Linked DNA regions of Homo sapiens: region 2 is linked to region 1. Evidence: promoter capture Hi-C in 16 types of primary human blood cells and fetal thymus (Javierre and others, 2016). All regions are on one chromosome and are shown on one strand. The core of a region is centred on a gene start or on the middle of the fragment in contact, and the rest is flanking DNA. Distances in the headings are between cores, read along the strand shown. Region 1 holds the start of RRAGB (Ras related GTP binding B). Region 2 holds the start of TSR2 (TSR2 ribosome maturation factor).

What was found. Contacts are between HindIII fragments. The CHiCAGO score rates a contact against its expected background, and 5 or more counts as called.
Region 2: the fragment with the promoter of TSR2 here is called in contact with the fragment with the promoter of RRAGB in region 1 in 1 of 17 cell types (fetal thymus); the score reaches 6.5 in fetal thymus.

Annotation. Positions count from the first base shown.
Region 1 is chrX:55,713,968-55,720,772 of GRCh38, forward strand. RRAGB (Ras related GTP binding B) reads left to right here and starts at 3,782. Exons shown (of 10, transcript NM_006064.5): 1 at 3,782-4,452; 2 at 5,347-5,380. The coding sequence starts at 4,361. RefSeq lists enhancers at 3,911-4,110, 4,271-4,400. The HindIII fragment of the contact is 6,209 bases long and covers 1,497-6,805 here.
Region 2 is chrX:54,435,755-54,442,559 of GRCh38, forward strand. It overlaps TSR2 (TSR2 ribosome maturation factor), which reads left to right and starts at 4,650. Exons shown (of 5, transcript NM_058163.3): 1 at 4,650-4,748; 2 at 4,936-5,026. The coding sequence starts at 4,668. RefSeq lists an enhancer at 4,368-4,417. The HindIII fragment of the contact is 25,574 bases long and covers 1-6,138 here.

The DNA of each region.
Region 1 (6,805 bases), core at 2,532-5,031:
GTATTTTATTTTTGATTTACAATAGGAATGCACTGCACATTGGCCCTATTCACCATTATTTGGAATCTATGCTTATTTGATTTAGTTTCTCAATCCTTTTCCACTACCTTTCTTCCATTCCCTTCCTTCTACCCCTCTTCCTCCTTTTTCCTCTTCTCCTTACCCCTCTATTCCTTCCCTCTTTCCCATCTCCCCACTTCTCCCCCTTTTCTTCTTCATCCCTCCCCTCCCCTTCTTTATCTGTTTCTTCCTCTTCTTACTTCTTGCCTCTTGGCACTTTGAGGCAACTATCAGCAGTTCCTTATGAAGCTTGTGAGGTAGTGAATGTGGGTAGAGAAATATAGCTCGTGAGTTGCTATAGGCCAGATCTTGAAGGTCCTTGTATTGACACACTTTTTCCTTAAGTTATGGGAGGATTTTAAAGTAGAGAAGTAGTCTCCTCCGATTTGTGGTTTAAAAGATTACTCAAGTTGAGGTTGCAGTGAGCCATGATTGTGCCACTGTACTCCAGCTTGGGTCAGAGAGCAAAACCCTGTCTCAAAAACAACAAGAACAACAACAACTACAACGACGATAAAAAGAAATTTGATCGCACCTGTAATCCCAGCACCTTGGGAGGCCAAGGTGGGCAGATCCCTTGAGGCCAGGAGTTTGAGTCTGGCAACAAAGTGAGACCCAGTCTCAACAAAAACTAGTTAATTAATTAATTAAAATAAAGGATCACTTGAGCAGCTTTTAGAGAGGATGGATGGTTTGAAGGAGGGGGAAAAGGATACCAGCAGCAACAGGGAGACAGTATTTTTTTTTTGCTTGCTTTGTCGCCCAGGTTGGAGTGCAGTGGTGCGATCTTGGCTCACTGCAACCTCCGCCTCCTGAGTTCAAGCAATTCTCCTGCCTCAGCCTCCCGAGTAGCTGGGATTATAGGCGCGTGCCACCACACCTGGCTAATTTTTGTAGTTTTAGTACAGATGAGGTTTCACTATGTTGGCCAGGCTGGTATCGAACTCCTGACCTCAGGTGATTCGCCCACTTTGGCCTCCCAAAGTGCTGGGATTACAGGTGTAAGCCACTGCACCTGGCCGAGACAGTACATTTTTATAAAAGAGTGGTTTAAGGGGCCAATTTGGCTGGTGAAGCCCGGGGGCAGTAGGTGTTGGAAGACATATTTGAAAGCTGCCTTTAGAAAGCAAGCACATATTAATTACGTCAAATGTTTTGGGGGATGAGATGACTAATGAAGATCAACTCACTCACTCCCAACCCCTTTGGAGCTGCCACTGTGGGAAAATCACTTAGTAGGCTATTGTGGATATCTAGGCCAGAGATTATGATAGCTGGAACAAAAAGAGTGGCAGTAAGAATAAGAGCAGGCAGGTAGTAGAAAATAGACTGATCATGACCTGGTCTCATTGACACGTATGGAGGGCAGTGAATCTAAGGTGACTTCCTGGTTTGGGACTCAGGATCTTTCATCAGACAAGGAAAGCCAGAATGGAAGCTTGTTTGGGGGTAGTTGGTTGGAAGGAGACAAAAGATTAGCTAGTGATAGAGCGAAGGATCACTAATCAGAGTAGAATAACTTTTTTCTTGAGGCAAGGCAGTTGTGGAGAAAAGGAATCACACAGGACCTCAAGTGGAAAGTGTGGGAGCAGACAGTGTAACTGCCCAACGGGTTCACCTTGCCTGCTGCCTAGACAGAGCTGATTTATCAAGACAGGGGAATTGCAATGGAGAAAGAGTAATTCATGCAGAGCCAGCTGTGGGTGAGACTGCAGTTTTATTACTCAAATCAGTTTCGGGGGATTGAAATTTTTAACAATAATTTGGTGGGTAGGGGCTTGGGAAGTGGGGAGTGTTGACTGGTCAAGTTGGATATGGAATCATAGGGGGCTCTAAGTGAGTTTTTCTTGCTATCTTCTGTTCCTGGGTGGGATCGCAGAACTGGCTGGGCCAGATTACTGGTCTGGGTGCTGTAAGTGAAACGAGGGAAGTTCCCCTATCCCCCTTGCAGGGCATGCCACAGCGGGAGTGGCTCACTGCTTCACAACCTCTAGGGGGAGCATGCAGAGGGGCAGGCTGTGGGGCTCCGACCCCATGGCAACCTCTAGGGGTGAATATAACATTTGGGTGGGAAGGCAGGAGTGCCTATCCTCACCTAGGTCCATGGGCACAGGCCCCAGGGTGGAGCCCTAGCCACGGACCCGCCTTTCTCTGCCCAGCACTTTCCTGCCCCGCTCCTGTATCATAAGCTGGTGCATCTGAATGCAGGGTCTGCAAAACATATCAAACAGTGATCTTAGGTTTTAAAACAGTGATGTTATTCCTGGGAGCAATTTGGGGAGGTTCAGACTCTTGCAGCTGGAGGCTGCATGGCCCCTGAATTGTAATTTCTAATCTTGTAATCTTGTGGCTAATTTGTTAGTCCTGCAAAGGCCGACTGGTTCCCAGGTAAGAAGGTTTTTTTGTTTTTTTGTTTTTTTTTAGTGGGGGGCAGCGGGAGGGAGAAAGGGCTATTATCAATTTTGTATCAGAGTTAAACTATAAACTAAATTCCTTCCCAAGGTTAGTTCGGCCTACGCCCAGGAATGAACAAGGACACCTTAAAGGTTAGATGTAAGATGGAGTCGGTGAGGTCTGATCTCTTTCACTGTCATAATTTCCTCAGTTACAGTTTTTGCAAAGGCAGTTTCAATAATAGTACTCTGTTTCCTGCAGTTTCTCTTCCTTCCTTCCCTTTTTTTCTTATCAAAGTAATATATGTACACACTTACGTGTAAATAATACATGTAGTATATCATATATTAATTATAAATAATATAATTAAACTACACATTTATTTAAAATAACATATTTATAACATATTATTTAAGTATTAGTTGATTATATTAAATATAATTAAATGTCATATTAATCTTATTATTATATATCATTTATACATTATAGAAATATATATAGCACAGAAGGGCTTCAGATAAAAAATAATAGTCCCCTGACATATCACGTCCTATCCCCTACCCCATTCTCCAGAAGGAACATCTTTGAACCCCTCTGGGCATTTTTCCTGGTGTGCATATCCCTACCAGTAGTCTTTCTGTTCTCAATTCTAGACTTCACTTATTTACAGATGGGGTCTCGCTATGTTGGCCAGGTTGGTCTTGAACTCCTGGCCTCAAGTGATCCTCCCTCCCCAGCCTCCCAAAGTGCTGGGATTAAAGGCATGACCCACCACTCCCAGCCCTAGACTTTATTTATTGACTTCTTACTATGGTACTTCCTTCACTTCCTGTTTTAAACAAGTGGGAAGATGAATGTGTGTGTTAAAATTCCTGATGAATCCCTGGTTTCAGCAATAACGATAATTTATACAGTATTTGCTATGTGGAAGACACAGTTCTAAGCGCTTTGGATGTATTAATCATTTAATTACAAACTCGATTGCAAGAATTAACAATAAAAAGCAGGAAGGCAAAGACAATGCTCGGTCTTCCCAGTCAAAAACCATTACCGGTAACCAGCAGTAAAAAAGAGAAGCTCAGAGGCACTGAAATTGCAACCGGCTCCTTTAATTCTCCATAGCGGATGGGTGGGGCCAGGCCCACCCACATTAGAGAGGCTGAAGGCTCCCAGCGCCCTACCCCGCCCGAGGGGCGGAGCCTGAGCCAAGGCCACGTGATGATGACAGACGGCACTCTGGCTTTCCTGGAGCTGTCTCTATGGTATTCTTCCCAGCCCACCCGTCCCTTTGGTAGCGGCAGTCACGTGACAGACTCCGGGGTAAGGCAGATGCCCACGTGATCCTGGCCTGCAGTTGGGTGGCTGCGGTGAGATACCTGGGTTCCTGAAGGGCGGGTGGTTAGGTCGTAACTACTGCCCCCGCCGGCTGACTCTCCGAGCGGCCGGGCTCGGAAGCCACGAGCCAGCTGAGGCGTTCTCCGCTTAGTGCCTACGGCATGGGTCAGCTCTTTCTGCCACCTCCGCCTTCGCGGTCCTCACCTCTTTGCGGGTGAAGTTACCTTTGGGTTTCCAGACCTTGGGGGCCTGAGGCCCAAACTCGGGACGAACCCCTAACCCACCTCTCTTTTCCTGTCATTCTCCAACTCTTACTTTGTACCACGGAATCACTTGGCCTTAAAGCTAGCCAGCTCGGCCGTGCCTTGAGGCCAGGTTCGAGAGATAAAGGTAACCGTGGGGAAAGCGGCCCCCCAGTGGACAAAGGCGGAGGCAAGAATAGAGCAGGCCTGAGGGCCATAGGCGATGAGAATAGGCAGTTGAGGGGTGAAAAAGAAAACAAACAAACAACAACAACAAACCCTGAAGAGTACTGAAGATTTAGAAGGGACTGGAAAGGACTTGTTGCGCAATGGAAGAATCTGACTCTGAGAAAACGACGGAGAAAGAAAATCTGGGGCCGAGAATGGATCCACCACTAGGGGAACCGGAAGGATCGCTTGGGTGGGTGAAGGGTATTTGTGAAACCTGGAAGTGGGGGTGTTCAAATTGAAGAGAGTATTGTGAATTAGAACACTTCTCCCCACCCCGCACCATGATAAATTGCTTTGATTTACCAGTAATGTTGATTGGGATTATGCTTTGGACGACAGGATAAACTGGAAAGCGAATTGGTGCTAACTGATCAGAAACAACCCTTGGGAAGGGGCTGATATTCCTGGTGGTGGTGCTGGGGGAGTGTTCTAATTAAAGCAGTTATGAGTTGCTTTGAATTATCAGTAAAGGAGATTTGCTGTCACCAGGTTGGGGATGGAAAGACTAGAAAGAAGATTTGCATTTCCAGGTCAGAGCTTGAGGGTGTTTTCTGTGCCAATTTGTACCTGAATTTGAGACTTACATCTACTTTGTGTCTGTGATGAGTGAAATAGGGCTTGGAAGGACAGCTGAAGGACTAAAAAGATACTTCCAGATTTTAAAATTAGGAGGCTGAATGTTTTTTATACATAGAAGATATTCAATACTCAGTCCTCAAGTAGAGGATATCAATATATTCTGTTTTTTTAGAAATAGAAGATATTGTTTGATTAAAGCAGCTGTGTTGCTTTGATTAAGATGATGAAAAATTGAATCTTGAATTTTAATGGCTCATTTGTATTCCTAAATAAATCTTCCTAGGAGTTCTCTCTTGAACTTCTAATTAGGAGATAGAGAGTATACACACAGTTTTATAATTTAGGAAAATGGGACCTCTATTCATCTGAGGTCCCACACACACAGCTGTACTCAGCCGTTGTACTAAACATGCTCTTTTGTACCTCCATGTTTATTTATACTTCATTAATTTCAATTTCTAAGGGAATTGGATCATGGAAACTGTTTTTTGGTTTATATCTGCAGGTGGGTGCTACCAAATACAGCCATGAAGAAAAAGGTAAGACGTGTTAGATACGTCAAAACCATGAAGGTAAAGGTAAGAAGTTGATATTCAGGAACTTTGTGACATATATACACCATCTTTTCTGGACTATTGCAGGAGCCTTCTGTGTGGTCTGTCTGACTCTCTTCTCCTTGTATGCTATCAGATTTAATTTTTCTAATATGAAAATCCGACTGAGTCATCTACATACTTAAGAACCTTTAGTAACTTCTTTAAGCCCATGGAATAAAATCCAAATGATTTCATGGCCCTTTAAAATCTGTTCCTGACCAAACCCTGTGCCACACTTATGCACCCTATCACAGCCCTACAGAATTTATTGTTCTCCAGATTTACAAATTAATTTGCACTTTGTGTAAGCCATATACACACACCATACAGGCCTCTGTCTGCACATTTATTTTTAACCTAACTCAAGTGTTACCACTATAAGGTCTTATTGAGTTCTTCAGATAGAATTGGACACACCTTCCTTTGTGCTCTCATAGTACTGTGCCCTACGTTGGGGTTTAGGCAGAATTGCTAAGAGTGCAGCTCAAGCTAATTTCTTAACCTTTTGGGGCTTCAGTTTCCTCATTTGTAAAATGGTAGTAATAATATTAACTGTATCGTAAGATTGTTGTGACGTTTAAATTAGTAAATGCCTGTAGAACACTTAGATCAGTACCTAACATGATTAGCCTTGGTAAGTCTTTCATAGGCAATTGAAAGAGGTACACTGTATAAATTAATAACCGAAGGAAATGTACCATATTTAGCCTTAGCTTCATCTAATAATTCAGTTCTGTAACTACAGTTTGCTAAGAGAATGTTCTTGATGAGCCTGTCTGAAGTTGCTTTCATTGAGAATGCCTAAAAGTACAGAAATTTCTACATGATTAAGAACAAAAATTAGCTTGATTTAATCATTCTGCATTGTATACATATATCAAACATTGCATTGTACCTCCTAAATATAAAGAGTTATTGTTTTTCAATTAAAATTTTAAAGTACAAAAGCAAACTTTTTGTAGCAACTTTAGACTGGCTCAGCAGTGGCATTTCCTTAGTGAGATAAAGTTATATAGCTACATTTTTAGATTAAATCAAGTCTGAGTGTAGTATATTTTCATCAATACTTCTTATATTAGTAATTAGAAATTTGTATAAAATATCTTGGGATTGAAGGTAGAACATAGGTTCCCTTCATTTGAAAAGCAAGTTAAGGCTGGGCACGGTGGCTCATGCCTGTAATCCCAGCACTGTGGGAGGCTGAGGCAGGTGCATCACTTGAGGCCAGGAGTTCAAGATCAGCCTGGCCAACATGGCAAAACCCTGTCTGTACTAAATATACCAAAAAAAAAAAAAAAATAGCCGGACATGATGGTGCATGCCTGTAATCCCAGGCATGGGATGGCTGAGGTGGGGGGCTCAGGTGGG
Region 2 (6,805 bases), core at 3,400-5,899, 1.3 Mb before region 1:
GCCTGGTCTATTTGAAGAATGTTTAAGATTTGTCGCTGTGCCAAGAGAAGTTAAAATAACCTGAAATCTTACAGCTCACATGTAAAAGAAACTAGAAATTTTCCCAAGTTTGACAAAAATCTTAAAATGTACATTACTAATAATGAGTTGTGAAATTGAAACTTTTCTAAAATACTAATAATAAAAAATTTTACTCAACTGAATTGAAATCAATTGAATTCTTTGTGTTCTCTCTAGAAAATATAAAATACTTGTCATATGAAGAGTTCTATAAACTCTTTGATATCAAAAAATGTAGAAAAATTAGTAGAGAGGTGAGTCATGTAATTAATAAGAATATTTTATTTTGGCAGGGCGTGGTGGCTCATGCCTGTAATCCCAGCACTTTGGGATGCTGAGGCAGGCGGCTCACCTGAGGTCAGGAGTTTGAGACCAGCCTGGCCAACATGGTGAAACCTTGCATCTACAAAACAAAAACAAAACAACAAAGTAATATTTTATTTTTCTGGGTTAGAAGATGTTTGTGACATTTGTCAGTTTTTAAAAATTTGTAATTTGTAAATTAGATTTCTAATTTTAAGGAAATACTTTCATCAATAAATCAACAAATAAGTAAAGTGTACAATTCAATGGCTTTTAGTATAGTTTCTTCTGATTTGCTCCTTGGCTTTCTCCTTAGCTTTCTCACTGTGTGTTCACATAGTTGTCCCTGTGTGTACACCTCTCTGGTGTCCCTCTTTGCCTGTGTCCTCATCTCCTCTTATTATTATATTTTGTTGTTTTTTGTTTTTGAGACAGGGCTTGTTCTGTCACTCATGCTGGAGTGCAGTGGTACAATCATGGCTCACGGCAGCCTCAACCTCCTGGACTCAAGTGATCCTCCCTCCTCAGTCTCCTGAGTAGCTGGGACTACAGCCATCACACTCAGCTAATTAAAAAAAAAATTTTTTTGTAGAGATGGGGGGTCTTGCTTTGTTGCCCAGGATGGTCTCGAACTCCTGGCCTCAAGTGATCTGAGCCATTGCACCGAGTTCTAATCTCCCCTTCTTTATAAGGACATCAGTCATAACGGATTAGGGCCCACCCATGCAACCTCATTTTATCTTAATTACCTTTTTAAAGGCTCTATCTCCCAATACAGTCACATTCTGAGGTACTGGGGGTTAGGGTTTCTACATATGAATTTGGGGGGTGGTGGATACAATTTAGCTCATAACAGCAACCATTACCTCGTCTAATTTTTAGAACATTTTCGACACCCCCAAAAGTAGCCCTGAAGCCATTTAGAAGTCACACTCTATTCTTTCCCCATCCAAGCCCTGGGCAACCATTCATGTATTTTCTGTCTCTATAGATTTACCTATTCTGTATATTTCATATAAATGGTATCATACAATATGTGGTCTTTTTTGACTGGTCGGTAATTATACGTCCTCTTTCGTTCCTGATTTCAGTAATTTGAGTCTTCTTTCTTTTATTTCTTCCTCAGTCTAGCTAAGGGTTTGTAAATTTTGTTGATCTTTTCAAATAACTGACTTGGCCAGTTGCATTTGCTCACACCTGTAATCCCAGCATTTTGAGAGGCGAGGCAGGTGGATCGCTTGAAACCAGGAGTTCAAGACCAGCCTGGGCAACAAAGTGAGACACCCCCTCCCAACACACACACACACACACACACACACACACACACACACACACACAACCACACACACACACACACACACACACTAGCCAGGCATGGTGGCCTATTCCTGTAGTCCCAGCTAATCAGGAGGCAGAGGCAGGAGGATCCTTTGAGCCCAGGAGTTTGAGGCTGCAGTGAGCAATGTTTGTGCCACTGCATTCCAGCCTGGGCAACAAAAAAAGACTTCATCTCTGAAAAAAAAATAACCGCCCAGGTCCGGTGGCTCACGCCTGTAATCCAAACACTTGGGAAGGCTGAGGTGGGCAGCTCACTTGAGGTCAGGAGTTCAAGACCAGCCTGGCCAACATGGTGAAACCCTGTCTCTACTAAAAATACAAAAATTAACGGGGCATGGTGGCATATGCCTGTAATCCCAGCTACTCTGGAGGCTGAGGCAGGAGACTCCTTTGAACCTGGGAGGCAGAGGTTGTAGTGAGCTGAGATTGCACCACTGCACTTCAGCCTGGGTGACAGCACCAGACTCCATCTCAAAACAAACAAACAAACAAACAAAAAACAACAACTGACTTTTGGCTTCACTGTTTTTTCTTTTCTCTATTGTTTTTCAATTCTCTATTTCATTTATTTCTGTTCTATTATTTATTATTTCCTTTCTTATGCTTGCCTTGGGATTACTTTGCTCTTCTTTTTCTGGTTTTGTGAAGTGGAAGTGTAGGTTATTAATTTGATATCATTCTTTCATTTTTTATTTTTTTGAGACAGGGTCTTGCTCTGTCCCCCATGCTGGAGTGCAGTGGCACAATCACGGCTCACTGCAGCCTTGAGCTCCCAGGCTCAAGCAATCCTCCCACCTCAGCCTCCTGAGTGGCTGGTACTACACGCATATGCCACTATGCCCATCTAATTTTGTTTGTTCGTTTGTTTGTTTGAGACAGAGTCTCACTGTGTCGCCCAGGCTGGAGTGCAGTGGAGTGATCTCAGCTCACTGCAACCTCTGCCTACCGGGTTCAAGCGATTCTCGTGCTTCAGCCTCCCAAGTAGCTGGGATTACAGGTGTGTGTCACCATGCCTGGCTAACTTTTGCATTTTTAGTAGAGACAGGGTTTGTTCATATTGACCATGCTGGTCTCAAACTCCTGACCTCAGGTGATCTGCCCACCCAAAGTGCGGGAATTATAGGTGTGAGCCACCATGCCTGGCCTAGTTTTCAAATTTATTTATTTATTTAGTTTGAGACAGAGTCTCACTCTGTTTCCCAGGCTGGAGTGCAATGGCACCATCTCGGCTCACTGTAACCTCCGCCTCCCGGGTTCAAGCCATTCTCCTGCCTCAGCCTCCCAAGTAGCTGGGATTACAGGTGCTTGCCACCAGACCTGGCTAATTTTTGTATTTTTAGTAGAGACGGGGTTTCACCATCTTGGCCAGGCTGGTCTCGAACTCCTGACCTCAAGTGATCTGCCTGCCTTGGCCTCCCAAAGTGCTGTGATTACAAGCGTGAGCCACCACACCTGGCCTAATTTTTAAAATTGTTTTTAGAGATGGGGTCTCACTATGTTGCCCAGGCTGGTCTTGAACTCCTGAGCTCAAGCCATCCTCCCGCATCAACCTCCCAAAGTGCTATGATTACAGGCATGAGCCACCATGTCCGGCTCTTCTTTTTAGATATGCATGTTTACAGCTAAAGATTTCCCTCTAAGTTTTGCTTTAGCTGCATCTCATGCATTTTTTTATGTTTTTGTTTTCATTCATTTAAAAGTGTTTTCTAATTTGCTTTGTGATTTTTTTCTTTGACCCATTTATTGCTTAGGAGTGTGTTAATTTCCATATATTTGTGAATTTTGTAAGTTTCTTTTTACTGATTTTTAACTTCTTTCCATTGTGGTCAGACAACATACTTTGTATGTTCAATCCTGTTAAATCTATGGAGGCCTACTGTATGGCCTAGTGTATGATCTGTTCTGGAGAATGTTCTTGTGTACTTCAGAAAAACATGTACAGTTATCCCTGGGTATCCGTGGGAGACTGGTTCCACGACCTCCGGAGGATACCAAAATTCATAGATGCTCAAGTCCCTGATATAAAATGGCATAGTATTTGCGTATAACCTATGAATATTCTACTGTATACTTTAAATCATTTCCAGATGTGACTCACGCCTATAATCCCAGCAATTTGGGAGGCTGAGGCAAGTGGATTAAACCCAGGAGTTCGAGACCAGCCTGGGCAACATGGCGAAACCCTGTCTCTACTAAAAACACAAAAATTAGCTGGGAGTGGTGGTGGGCACCTGTAATCTCAGGTACTCGGGAGGCTGAGGCACGAGAATTGCTTGAAACCAGGAGACGGAGGTTGCAGTCAGCCGAGATGGCGCCACTGCACTCCAGCCTGGGCCACAGAGTGACACTCGGTCTCAAAAAAATAGATAAATAAATAATTTCCAGGTTACTTATAATGCCTAATAAAGTGTAAATGCTATGTATATAGCTGTTATACTGTACTGTTTAGGAGAATAATGTCAAGAAAAAAAGTATACACATGTTCAATGCAGATGCAATTTTTTCCTGAATATTTTCCATCTGAGGTTAGTTGAATTCACGGACGTGGACTGCCCCCCATAGGGAGAGCTGATTGTATTTTACTGTTGTTGGTTGCAGTATTCTATACAGATGTTAGGATGCTTTTTTTAAATGCAGATTTTTAAGGCTATACTCACTGAGTCCTCTGCCCCAGGGCCTGGAATCTGTATCTGTAATAAGTTCCCCACATATTTCCTCCGCAGTACCCACGGATCCGGAAACCATGGCCCCACACGTCCTTCAGGTCTGGTGTCCTTTGATTTAAGTGAGTAACTCTGGTGGTGTCATCGATCGCTCTGACAGATTTTTCTTTTGCTCTAGTCTTGCTGCCAGGTCTGCGGAAAAGAGAATCCTGTGTTCTCAGGCTCGGCTTGCGTCTCGTTCTGCCTGGGCCGAGCTACAGAGGGATTGGGCCGCCGGGACGTCACGTGGACTGGGGCCGGATAATGGCGGGCGCTGCAGAAGATGCGCGAGCTCTTTTCCGGGCTGGGGTCTGCGCGGCCCTGGAGGCCTGGCCGGCCTTGCAGGTCAGTGGGGCCAGGGCCAGGGCAAGGTCAAGGTTAGGGCCCGGGGCAGAACAGGAGTTGGTTGGGCTAGGTGCCTGAGGCTTGGCTAGGCGGCATAAGAGGAGTTGGCTGGGCGGCGTAAGCGGCCTCCAGGCTACTCCAGGTCTGCTCCCAAGCTGACTTGGTGGGCTTGGACCTGTGTTTACAGATCGCTGTGGAGAATGGCTTCGGGGGTGTGCACAGCCAGGAGAAGGCCAAGTGGCTGGGGGGTGCAGTGGAGGATTACTTCATGCGCAATGGTGAGTGAATGTGAGGCGCCGCGACCCGCCTGTGTGGGGGTGTGGAGAGGAGGAGCCCCATCCCGCAGAGCCTGCATTTCCTCTCGAGCAGTTGTGGATTGGTACCTAAAGGTGAGGTGGAATGAATTCAGCTTTTAGAATCAGAATCCTGGATTCCAGTGCTTTACGGGCTGTACCACTGACTCGTGGGATTACTCTGGACAAGGCAGTTTACCTCCCTGAGACTCAGTTTCCTAGTTTCTAAAATGCGTATAAAAGTATCCACCAGAGCGCTGTACAGTAGAAATATTATGCTAGTCACATATAATTTAAAATTTTTTAGTAGCCACTTTAATAAAGCAAAAAGCAGATGAAATCAATGTTAGTAAACTCGGTGTGTATGAAATATTTCAACATGTAGTCAGTATAAAACATTGAGATATTTTACATTTTTTAGTATTAAGTTTTCAAAATCTGGTATTTTACAGTTTTAGCACATTTCGATTTGGCCTAGCCATATTTCAAGTGCTCAGTAACCACCTGTGGCTGTTTGGACAGCAAAGATCTACACTGTAGGCTCGTCTTGAGGGATATACAAGAACAAGAGGCCCAGTAGAGGGCCTGTTGCATAGTATGGTTTTTAAAAAAATCTTCATTCAATTTCTAGCTTTGGAGATGACATTAGGCAGAGTCATCTCTCTCAAGAAAGTATACTATCCATTGAGGATCCACACACGTAAATAGTTACAACATTGATAGATTTTCTGATAAAGAGGAGCTCAGGGTGCATGGGGTAACAGGATGGGGAGACAGCTTCTTAGTGGAGGTGGTGAATTGGGCTGGGTCTTAGTGAGAAGGAGTTAACTAGGTGGGGGAAGCAGAGAGAGCAACACTCAAGTTCTGTGGCATGAGGGTATAATGTGTTATATTTGGAAAGTAGCAGGGAGCTCAGTATTGGAGTATGGGCGTGTGTGCGTGGGGGGTGGAGGAGTGGTAGAGAATGAAGCTGGGGTGTGGGAAGCCCCCTTGAAAAGCATAAGACATGGAAGCCCTTATGTGCCTTTGATTTTATCATTTAGGCCAGTGTTTGCCAAAATTCATGCTAACTAGTTCTGTTAGATGTTCAGTGAAGAAGCTTCTCCAGTTACCTTATGTAAGAAAAACTCTTGTTCTGCTCCCACTGAAAAGTCTTAACACTCATGAACATATTAAAGGCTTGGGTAAGAATAAGAACCACTAAAAAACCTGTTTGCTTTTGTTTCTCATTAGCTTTCTATGGATAGTGTCCCTTAAGACCCAGCAGAACAGATATTTCTCAAAGGCAAACTGTGAAACACTGCAGTGGCTGGTAAAAATTCGTGGGCAGGTTCTAGGGTGAGAAATAGGATGGGATTTGCTGGCTAGAAAGTTCAGGAAATAATCAGTATGAAGCATAACCTGGAGAGGGAAAGACTGATGAGAACGCTGTTTTTGTCTAGAAACTGATGAGGCCTGAAGTAGGACAGTGGCAACAGGCATGGAAAAGAAGGGGTGGAATAGGGCCTTGGAGATTGGTTGGCTGTAGACAGGGAGGGAAAAAGAGGCAAGTTCCTGGTTTGAGTTGATGGGTGGATTAGGTGTCTTTTCTCGGAGTAGAGGAACCCTGGAGGATGCGAAGCAGGTTTAAAGAGTAAGGTGATGAGTCTGGCTTTAGATATGGAAGATCTGCGGCATCTGTGAAACGTCCAGGCACAGAGTAGTCTCAGTTGGAGATAAATTCGGGGGATATTAAGTTTGAGTGGTAGGGAAAGCCAAGAGTGT